Regions from separate parts of the Homo sapiens genome. Here region 1 is linked to region 2. Evidence: promoter capture Hi-C in 16 types of primary human blood cells and fetal thymus (Javierre and others, 2016). All regions are on one chromosome and are shown on one strand. The core of a region is centred on a gene start or on the middle of the fragment in contact, and the rest is flanking DNA. Distances in the headings are between cores, read along the strand shown. Region 1 holds the start of ABCG4 (ATP binding cassette subfamily G member 4). Region 2 holds the start of MCAM (melanoma cell adhesion molecule).

Region 1 (4,956 bases), core at 625-3,124, 170 kb after region 2:
ACTAGCAGCTAAAGCTGCTCAGGGTAGGGGCTGCAGGGGCTAGTCAGGGTTCAGGGGAACCTGTCCTCATGGGCGGGAAGAGGGAAGTGATGGGACTGCTGTACAGGGAAGAGAGAGAAAGGAACAATGCATGGAGAGCTGGGAAACCGGGCTTCTGGTCTCAGCTCTACCACTTACTAGCTGTGTGACATTGGTCAAGTTACTCAACTTCCCTGGGCCTCAGTTTCCTTATTAGTAACATGGAGATGACATCTATCCTGCCAAACCGCCACCCTCCCTGCTTCTGAGCACTGTGGTAAGAATGGAATAAGATGACAGGAATGAGAACGTCTTTATAATTAGGTCCAAGGGTATTGCTCAACCCTGCAGACACAGCCCCCTACTTTTTCATACCAGCCCTCACAGGTAGGAATCCTCCATAAACAAAAGAAGGAAAACTCATCAAGGACCACTCAAGGACCAGAGGTCACGGGATCTCTTTAGAAGATACAGCTTCAATAACCAATTGCACCTAGTATCCCATGGTGCTCACAGGTGTGGGGGAGCGTAGATCCTGACACCCCAAGAGTGCACAGTGAGCAACGGGCTGGGGCCCAGATTTTAGTGTTTCCACAGAGCCCACTGGTGCAGGACTTTCCGAACATGGGACACCCAGGCCTCATGCTTCTGGAGAGGCAACTCAGAGAGGGCCCACGGACTCCCCCTACCAGGCTGTTCCCTACCCCTTTTGCGCCAGCAGGGCCCCTCCCGCACGGAATAGGACAGCTCCACGAACTCGATGTCCACGGCTGAGCGCTTGGGTAGGTGGGAGAAGCGCTGGGCTTCAGTGATGTGGTTCTCCACCTTCTTCAGGTGCGTGGTCAGCACAGGGGGTTCCGCCCCGTCCTCCAGCGTCACGGCCATGGCCACAGCCCCCGGCCCTAGTCCACAGCCCACGGCCTCCAGCGCCTTCTCCGCCATCACGCCGCCGACCTGCAAGGGGAGGGCCTGCTCAGTTTGGGGCAGACCACCGAGCCCGGCTCAAAGCTCCCTGGCGTTCTAATGCTTCCCCCGCCCCCACTGCCCACCTCCTTCTCGGGGCAGATCCGCGACTGTTAGCCCCGCACTCTGCCCCCGCCCCCCACTCTCCGCACGGAGACGCTCAGTCCCGGGCAGCCCAGCTCCAGCCTGACCCCAGCCCGTCCCCTTGAAGCCCTCAATCGCTCCTTCCTCCCGGCGGCTTCTCTAATCTCCTTACCCCGCAGGCCAGCAGCCCCTGGGGACTGAAGGAATAGGGGGCGGGGGAGAAGAGGCAGCCGGCAGAGGCTGCCCGCTCTAGGAGGTCGGGGTAGCAGGGTGAGTGCAGGGCGGACCAGGGGAAGGCGGAGAGGAGGAGGCTTCAGGCCTCCGGCTGCGTCCCACTCCCCATCCCTTGGCGCGACGCCCAGGCCGGCCCCTCCCGCCGGCACCCCCGGGCCCGCGTGCCCCGGGCTGTCCCCAAAGCCAGGCGCACCACCCGGACTCAAAACTAAGCGCCCCACGGCAGCTCAAGCCCCCGCCCCATCTCCCGCATGCCTAGTCACCTTGACGCGCCCCCGGGCCGGTGCGGGGCCGGGATGCTCAGCGCTGCCACGGACCGGGGACGGAGAGCCGGGGCTCCCCTTACCTGCCTCGGGCTGCGGCACCCGCGTCCCGGCTCCCGGTCCCGGCGGCCCGGGCCGGGGCGGGGCCGGGGCGGGGCAGGCGAGGCAGGAGGGCCGGCCCTCGGCTCGGAGGAGACGGCAAGGATGGTGAGAGGCGGTTGGGGTCGCGCCCTGACTCTGCTGGGCTGTGCACACCCGCTTCCCAGAGCCTGGTCCCGGACGCTGTGTCCTCCGAGCCCGCGGGGCGACTGCGCTCTCCTACCAGCTACTGCTCGCCGGTCCCGCCGTTCTTAAAGGGCCCGCGCCGCCCGGCAGCCCGCGGGGGGCGAGGACGGCAAAGGAGAGAGCAGCGCTTGCGGCGCGGGGGCCGGAGGAGGTGCAGGGGTGAACTCAGGACTGGGGGTTGATGGCAAAGGGCCGACTTGGAGGCAGTGAGGAAAGGAGAGCTGGAGTCACTCCGTGGGGACAAGTCCCTGGAAGACAGATTAGGCAAGGGTGTTGGGGGTGGGGGAAAGTGGAGGGATTGTAAAGGTGTCAGTCTGTCTTCACACACGATACCAGTCCCCCAACAATTTCCCTCAGTTCCAGCCCATGAATGAGCGCAGGCCTCCCTCCAGGAATCCCCAAACGAGGTGCAAAGGCTTTCAAAAACGCAGGAGCCTTGGGACATTGGAACATCCTCCTGTCTCCCCATTCACACTTTCTCTGAGTTAGGACACTAATAAAGAAGGGAAAATGGCAGCAGCTTTGGGAGAGCCTGCAGTAGCTCCAGAGTTAAACTGGAACCCAGTGCTCAGCCTGCTCCGACTGTAGTCACCTAGCCAGATACAGGCCTTCAAGACAGGCACATGCCATATCCTGGAGGGACCTGTGTGCCAGGGCATGCACAGGGCTCGCAGACATGCCCTGGGCATCTCATGCACCTGCACATTCTCTCCCTTGCCCCCAAAGCCTTCAAATGTAGGTCCCCAGAACACACTTGGGGCTTTCCCCTGCTCTGCCCCTTTCTCAGCCAATTCCTCTTGGCCCTTGCCTGTCCCAGCCACTATGTCTTCAAGGGGTAAGTAGGTTAGCTAGCCAAGACACGTGATCTGAGCTTTTAAGTTCCCACCTGTCACACAGCAGAGACGATGGGGAGGGAAGGCTCTGAGGCTGCTGGTGTGACTGCCACCGCTGAGGCTTCTCCTTACTGCAGCAGTTGAGGGTTACTAGCAGTCAAACCTCTCCCCTGCTGGCCCCCCTCCCAACCACCTCTCCACAGCCCTAAAAGCTGGCGATCCCTGGAGGATTTCTCTAGGCCCCGCCCTGTTACTCTGAGGTTTGTGTGGGGTTTGGATCCAGTCTTTCCTATCTTCCCCCAACTCCATGCCCCACATCACCACCATTCCTCAGGACCAACCTCCTGTTCTCCAGATGGACCCTCCATTCTCCAAGTCAACTTCTCATCAGCTACTATAGACCTCCCCATCCCCCAACAGTTGCATTTATTAACTACTTTGTACCAGGCATTATGTTATTTAATCTTCACAATATCCCTATGCGACAGGTTTTACAACCCCCCTTTAGAGATGAAAAACTGAGGCATAGGGAGGTTAAGCAATAGTTGGTGGCAAAGCAGGGCTTGAATCCCAAAGTCCCTGATTTTACCCTGCTAATTGGGCCTCTCAGAACCTTATTCCCAAATGGACTGTCTCCCTCTATTTTCTAGACAGGCTCTTCATCCTCCTGAGATAACCTCCATGTCTTAATGCCACCCAGCTTTATTCTTTGGCACACAACTTTCTTTCTTTCTTTCTTTCTTTCTTTCTTTCTTTCTTTCTTTCTTTCTTTCTTTCTTTCCTTTCTTTCTTTCTCTTTCTTTCTTTCTCTCTCTCTCTTTCTCTCTTTCTTTGCTTCTTTCTTTCTTTCTGATATAGTCTCGTTCTGTCACCCAGGCTGGAGAGCAGTGGTGAGATCTCAGCTCACTGCAGCCTCTGCCTCCCAGGTTGAAACGATTCTCCTGCCTCGGCCTCCTGAGTAGCTGGAACTACAGGCACACACCACCACACCCGGCTAATTTTTGTATTTTTTGTAGAGATGGGGTTTCACCATGTTGACCAGGCTGGTCTCGAATTCCTGACCTCAAGTGATCCTCCCGCCTCAGCCTCCCAAAGTGCTGTGATTACAGGCATGAGCCACCACACTCAGCAGATTAAGATTTTTTATTCTCAAGAGTAGACTATAGGCCAGGCATGGTGGCTCACACCTGTAATCCCAGCACTTTGGGATGCCAAGGTGGGTGGATCACTTTAGGTCAGGAGTTCGAGACCAGCCTGGCCAAGATGGCGAGACCCCATCTCTACTAATATTACAAAAATTAGCTGGGCATGGTGGCTCATGCCTATAATACTTTGGAGGCTAGGGCACAAGAATCACTTGAACCTGGGAGGCGGAGGTTGTAGTGAGCCAAGATCGTGCCACTGCACTCCAGCCTGGGCGACAGAGCAAGACTCTGTCTCAAAAAATAAAATTAAATAAATAAATAAGCCAGACGTGGTGGTGTGTGCCTGTAGTCCCGGCTACTCGGGAGGCTGAGGCAGGAGGATCACTTGAGCCTGGGATGATAAGGCTGCAGTGAGCCATAATCATGCCATTGCATAGACCATACATTCTTACTTCCCAGGTCACACCACGGTTCAGGCTCATTTCCTTCCCCCAGATGAATCTTCCTTTCCTTAGCAAACGAGGGGAAACTACATTTATTGAATGTCTACTACCTGCTAGGCACATAGCATGGAGATATGGTTGATCTCTGAGTAAGGGGCTAGGCCAGTCTTTCTCCACTACATTCCTAGAACTTGGACACAGAAATTGCAGTCAAAACTGGGTGTGGTGGCTCATGCCTGTAATCCCAGCACTTTGGGAAGCTCAGGCAGGAGGATTGCTTGAGCCCAGGATTTTGAGACCAGCCTAGGCAATGTAAGGAGACCCTCTCTATACAAAAAAAAAATTAAAAAATTAAAAATTAAAAAAAAGAAAATGCACTCCATAAATACCCATTGACTGAACAGTCTAACCAGTCCTTGTAACAATGTTATGAAGTCAGTATTATTCTTCCATGTTTTAGATAAGGAACTGAAGCTCAGAAATGTTAAGTACAAGTATGAAGTACATAGCTAGTGTGATGGATGTAGGTATTCAAATCCAGGTCTCAGTGATTCTAAACCATGGCTTTATCTACGATGTCAAACTTCCTCATTACCTATTGTCACCTTCCCACTTTATAAAGCAGATTTTCTCAGTTGCCCTGAACAGACCTTTCTCATTCTAGGATATAGAACCTTTCCAGCCTTCC
Region 2 (4,948 bases), core at 2,144-4,643:
TTTGTGAGGGTGGGCCCTGCCCCCCAGTTCAAGCCCCAGCCTGGCTCGACCCCAGAGTTCAGTAGGCCATCTGTGACGAAGACAGCCCCTCCCCCGCTCTCCGCCCTCCACCCCCCTGCCTGCTCCAACATAATCCTCGCCATTGTGCCCGTCGCCCCCTCCCCCCGCTCCCCCTCTCTAGACCCCTGTACAATGGGGCCTTTGCAGCCTCCAGAATGGAGATGAACTCACGGTTTTTCCAAGTTTAAAAATAGCCCCTCCCATCCCGCAGAAGGCCACCCTCCCTCTCTCCCATGGTGGTGTGGGGTGCACCTCCATCCCGGCTGTGCCTCCTTCCTCCTGCCCTGGGTCAGGTGCGAAGGACATGGGTGAGACAGCATCCGGCGGGAGCAGGGCTGCTTCCCCCGATTCAATCTCTTCCCCCACATCTTCCATCCACCCCCCAGTACAGTATCCGGTTTCCTGCCCCCTACCCTTTTCCACCCTGTTTTCACTCCTTCAGTATAATCTTCTCCTACTCACACCCACATTCTGGAAAAATTCTCCAACTTCCGCACCCCCTCCAAAGACCCAGGCCGGATCCTATTATCTGGCCTGGCCAGGGGGTTCCCCAGTCTCGGTAACTGCCAAGATTGTTGGGACTCCCACCCCATGTCCTCACAGCAGCTGCAAACACCTCTTTATCAGCTTCCTTCCTCGAGCTACTTCTGACCCACCCTTCTCATATCCTCACATCCTGGTCAAGGCCCCTGGATCCAGAAGGGTGGGTCAGAAGTCGCTAAGTTCCCTTTGCTGGAGCTGAGAGAGGACACTTGGGTTCCAGTCTTGCCCCTTCATGGCCTCTGGGGACAGGTCCATCCTTGTCTTTTTACCTCCAACTCCCCAGGGTTCCACTTCTCCTTACAATGAGCTGAAAGCTCCACCCATCCAGGAGACTGTGGCTGAGGAGCCCAACCAGGACCCCCACCCCACCTGGCCTCAGTTTCTCCACCTGTGGTCAGACCTATACCAGAGACACGCAGAGGGCATTATGCGCAGGAGGGTCCCCTCATGTGTGAGGGGCCCAGGTCCACCATGGGGCTGGAGGAAAGCAGCCTTCTTGCCTGCAACCCAACGAGGGAAAAAAGAAGAATTAGGACTCTGCCCCCAGGGCCTCTTCTGGCCCTGGCCTACATCTGAGCCAGGCTCTTCCAACCCAGTCCAGGTGCTGGGTCCCTGCAGGGTAGACGGCCGTGGCCTCCTCCTCCAACTCCCTTCTGCTGGCTGTCACTCCTGTCCTGCTGGAAGTCCCGCAGCCACCTTCTCTCCCCTGGGGCTGCCGGAGCACTAGCCTCTGGCCTCTAAGAAGAGCTGAGGGCTGATCCCCTTCACCTTCCGCTCCCTCCACCCTGCTCCCTGCCTCCACTCCTGCGTCCTTTCCGAGGTCCTGACCCGTCTTTAGTTTGGAATCCCAAAGTGCCCACCTCATGAAACCATCCCAAAGCTATCTGTCCCCTGAGGCTATGACCCACTTCCGAGCAGCCTAGACAGCCCCAGGCTACTGGCTTCCTTAAAGGACAGTCTTCTGTGCTTGTTTGGTGGGGCAATGCGAAGGGACGTCACCCTGGGCTCTAGGCTCTGACCTCATTTCCCTTTCACCGCAGAGACAAATCCTCCACCCCCACCTGGCTTCACTCTCCTCCAGCGGAAGAAGAATTCAGAACTGACTGTCCTTGGTGGTTAGCTGGCTTTGTTTTCAGGCCAGAGAGGCGAATGATTAGTTAATGGTGTTAAGTGAAGGAAGGGGGTTGGGCAGGGAAGCCAGCTCCATGCCCAGCCGGGCCTGCCAGGGCAAACGGCATCCTTCAGCCATTCCCACTCCAGCCCAGCAGACAAAACATTCTCATCTAGTCAGCTCTGGGCCTGGGGCCAGTCCATACATTCACTCTGGAGGGCGAGCCAGCGTCCTCCTCTTGTTCTCCCTGCAGGCTCCAGGCTCCAGGCCCCTGGCCCGGTGGGCCTGGGCTCTGCACAGCCTCTGGCTGGAGACTAATGGCATTGGAGGAGGGGTCGAGAAGGCTCTGAAAGACAAGCCTGGTGTGGTTTTCCAGTCATCTCTGCGTCATCAAAACGCCACCCCGGAGCATGCTCTCAAGTCACCTGGCCATCTCCAGGGTTTGCTGGCTCACCCTCCACCTCCCCCAGCGAGCAAAGGGGTGGCCCCGCTGGGCAACAGACCTCTACCCAAATCCAGGCCCCTATTTGGCACTCCCTGGTGGAGGCGCGCCAGCAGATGTGGACCCCTTTTCTGAGGCCAGGCTGCTGGGGTCAGAGTGAGGCAAGAGCACCTCCCCCTCCCTAGAGCCTTAGTTCAAGAGGCCAGAAGACCCAGGGAGAAGCCGGCGTTTTGGGAGAAGGGGAGCTGCAGAGCTCCCCACCCAAGCAGGTCTGATTTGATTCTTCCCTCAGCTATGGACCCACAATCAATAGGGCTGGGGAAGACATGGGGTGGGGGAAGATCAGCGCTGCCGGGATCCTTTCAATCATCAGGAACAGCAACAGGTTTGCAGGGTCAGGCTGGGGACCCTCGCCCATTAACTCTTTCTTCTCCCTGTTTCTTTCTCTTAGGTGAGGGGAAACTGAGTTCCAGGGTAGGCTCCAGAGTGAAGAGGGAAGAAACATGATTCTCAAGGCCCAGGTCTGGACAAGTGTGAACACCTTGGGCCTGCGAATTCAGCCCCCTCCTTCCTTTCTCTGGTCAAAGGCTAGACTTGCAGGAGCTTGCGTTTGAAGGGACAGCCCAGAAGGCATCGTCTGCACTCCCCATACAGGTACTTCTGGGTCTGTGGGACTGGCGCAGGGTTCTTCTCCCAAAGCTGCCAGCACTGAGGCTGAGGCAGTGTCAGGCCGGCGGCAGCGGCAGTGGTGCAATCGTTCTGGGAAGCGATAGAGGCCGGCCTGAATTCTCTGTGGCAAGGGAGGGGAGCCCAAGTGGGAGGCCCCTTGGGGACACCGAGGACCAGGTCCGCTACTGCTCCTCCCCCAGGAGGTCCCCTAGGGGCTACATTGGCTGGCAGGGGCTGAGCAGCGGTGAGCCTGGCTGGCTTCGACCCGGGGCGACTCCGGGCATCCGGGACAGCTTCTCCTCGCTGCCACCTCGGCCAGTCAGACCCCGAGACACCTGTCACTACCCCCTCAGCCTTCCCAAGCCAGGAGCCTGGGAGTCCGGCTCTGGCCTACCTCCGGCAGCGCTCCTAGGCGCAGCTCCCGGGCTGGCGGCGCCGGGGCCCGCCCCCTAGGGCTGCGGCGCGCGGGGCGGGGGCTGGGGGCTGCGCGGGGCGGGGCGGGCCCGGGCGCTCCGGGCCCCCTCCCCCGCCCCCCTGACGTCAGCCCCCGGCAGCCTCGAGCTGCTCACTTGGCTCTCGCCCTCCGGCCGGGAAGCATGGGGCTTCCCAGGCTGGTCTGCGCCTTCTTGCTCGCCGCCTGCTGCTGCTGTCCTCGCGTCGCGGGTGAGTTCGCTCGCAGGGGGGCCGCGCCCCGGCTAGGGGTCTGCGGTGGAGCGTGCCAGGGAGCAGAGCCAGCGGCGCGGCGGGGTCGGGGCGTTGCGTCTGGGAGGACGAGCCTCCTCCCTGGGTCCCCGATCCCCGGGCGCCTTGCGCGCGAGCAACTCTTCTTTGCAGCCAGTTTGCAGCCGGGATTCTAGAGTATCCCGGGAGCAGCACTCGGAAGGCGGGGAGGAGGCTGCTTCTGGGAACGAGAAGGGGTGGAGCTCAGCCTTTCGGGGTGCTGGGGGGTGGGTGGTCCCTGAGGTGCTCACTCTGGGGGCCCGCAATTGAAGCCGGGCAGGAGGCGCAGCTGGGGCGCATCCTCAAAGCCTGAATTCCGCGCCCGCCTGTTGCTGGAAAAGGCAGCTTCCTTCGCTGGAGGGGGTGCGCCGACCCACCCCTTCCCCCTTCTGCCTGGGCATCACGCCAGGCTGGAGGTGAGCGAGAGCGGGAGGTTCGGCGGCTCCCGCCCGAGCTGGGCGTTGGCAGGGGTTGCGGGGCGGTGTGGGTCGCCTCGCGCCTCCCCGAGTGATGGGATCATAGGGGACAGAGATGAGGGATGGAGGATTCCCATACTGGAAGCGCCCGCTGGCTTATTTTGGGGACCACATTCAGGTGGGAAGTGCGCCCGGGCACCTCGGAGCGTTTCTCCGGATCCGCCTGGTAGCAGGGCGCTCTCGGGTCCACGCTGCCCTTGTATGGCCCGCAGCGGTGTCGCGTGTTTCTCTTGGCTCCCATTCCGCCGTCCCAGCCGCTGTCCGGCTGGGGAAGGGGAGGGCTAGGCAATACCCAGCTCGCTGGCCTCATGCCCAGTGCCAACCATGTCCCTGGGGTATTCCAGGCTACTGCCTCCCAGGCTGACTTTATTTCTGGGGAAAGGGCTAAATCGGGCTCCACAGTTGCAGCCGGTCCAGCTCCACCCTGCCCTGCTCTTCTAGCTCTGGGAGGAGTCAGGGGTCTGAGGCTCTGGGTTGGAGACCCCACCTTCCACCTGCCCTCCTTGTCCGAGAGCCAAGGTAACAACCCAGGCATCCCAGAGCCCAGGCAGATGGTGTCGAGTGACATCACCTCCTCACAGGGCTGGCAGCACGCTGGCACCACTGACGTCACTCCTGCCCACTGCCTGGCCCTTGCCCTGACCCCTGGGGGAGACTCTGACCTCTCCATCCTTACCAGCTACCTAGGGTGGGGTCCGCGGGTGTGTGCGGAGTGTTCATGGAGGTGCTGCTGAGGGAGCATGAGACCGGAACTTCCGCCAGAGTTAGCCCGCTGGGGAGTGAGGGCAGGGATTTTGGAGGGCAGAGGATAGAGCAGTGGTGTCTTCCCCTGGCGGTGGTGACACAAAAGGGCCTGTGTGCCCCAGCCTGGCACATGCTTTGCATTCCCACACTCTGAGCTCACCCGGAGAGGAGGGGGCCTGGAAG

What was found. Contacts are between HindIII fragments. The CHiCAGO score rates a contact against its expected background, and 5 or more counts as called.
Region 1: a contact is called between the fragment with the promoter of ABCG4 here and the fragment with the promoter of MCAM in region 2, in 10 of 17 cell types (endothelial precursors, neutrophils, total CD4 T cells and 7 more). The highest score is 9.4, in endothelial precursors.

What each region holds. Positions count from the first base shown.
Region 1 is chr11:119,145,970-119,150,925 of GRCh38, reverse strand. ABCG4 (ATP binding cassette subfamily G member 4) reads right to left here and starts at 1,874. Exons shown (of 15, transcript NM_022169.5): 1 at 1,563-1,874; 2 at 723-972. The coding sequence starts at 960. RefSeq lists a silencer at 1,696-1,775 and an enhancer at 2,433-2,492. The HindIII fragment of the contact is 14,272 bases long and covers 1-4,956 here.
Region 2 is chr11:119,315,575-119,320,522 of GRCh38, reverse strand. MCAM (melanoma cell adhesion molecule) reads left to right here and starts at 3,393. Exons shown (of 16, transcript NM_006500.3): 1 at 3,393-3,488. The coding sequence starts at 3,422. RefSeq lists enhancers at 1,764-1,813, 4,707-4,948 and a silencer at 3,055-3,114. The HindIII fragment of the contact is 17,882 bases long and covers 1-4,948 here.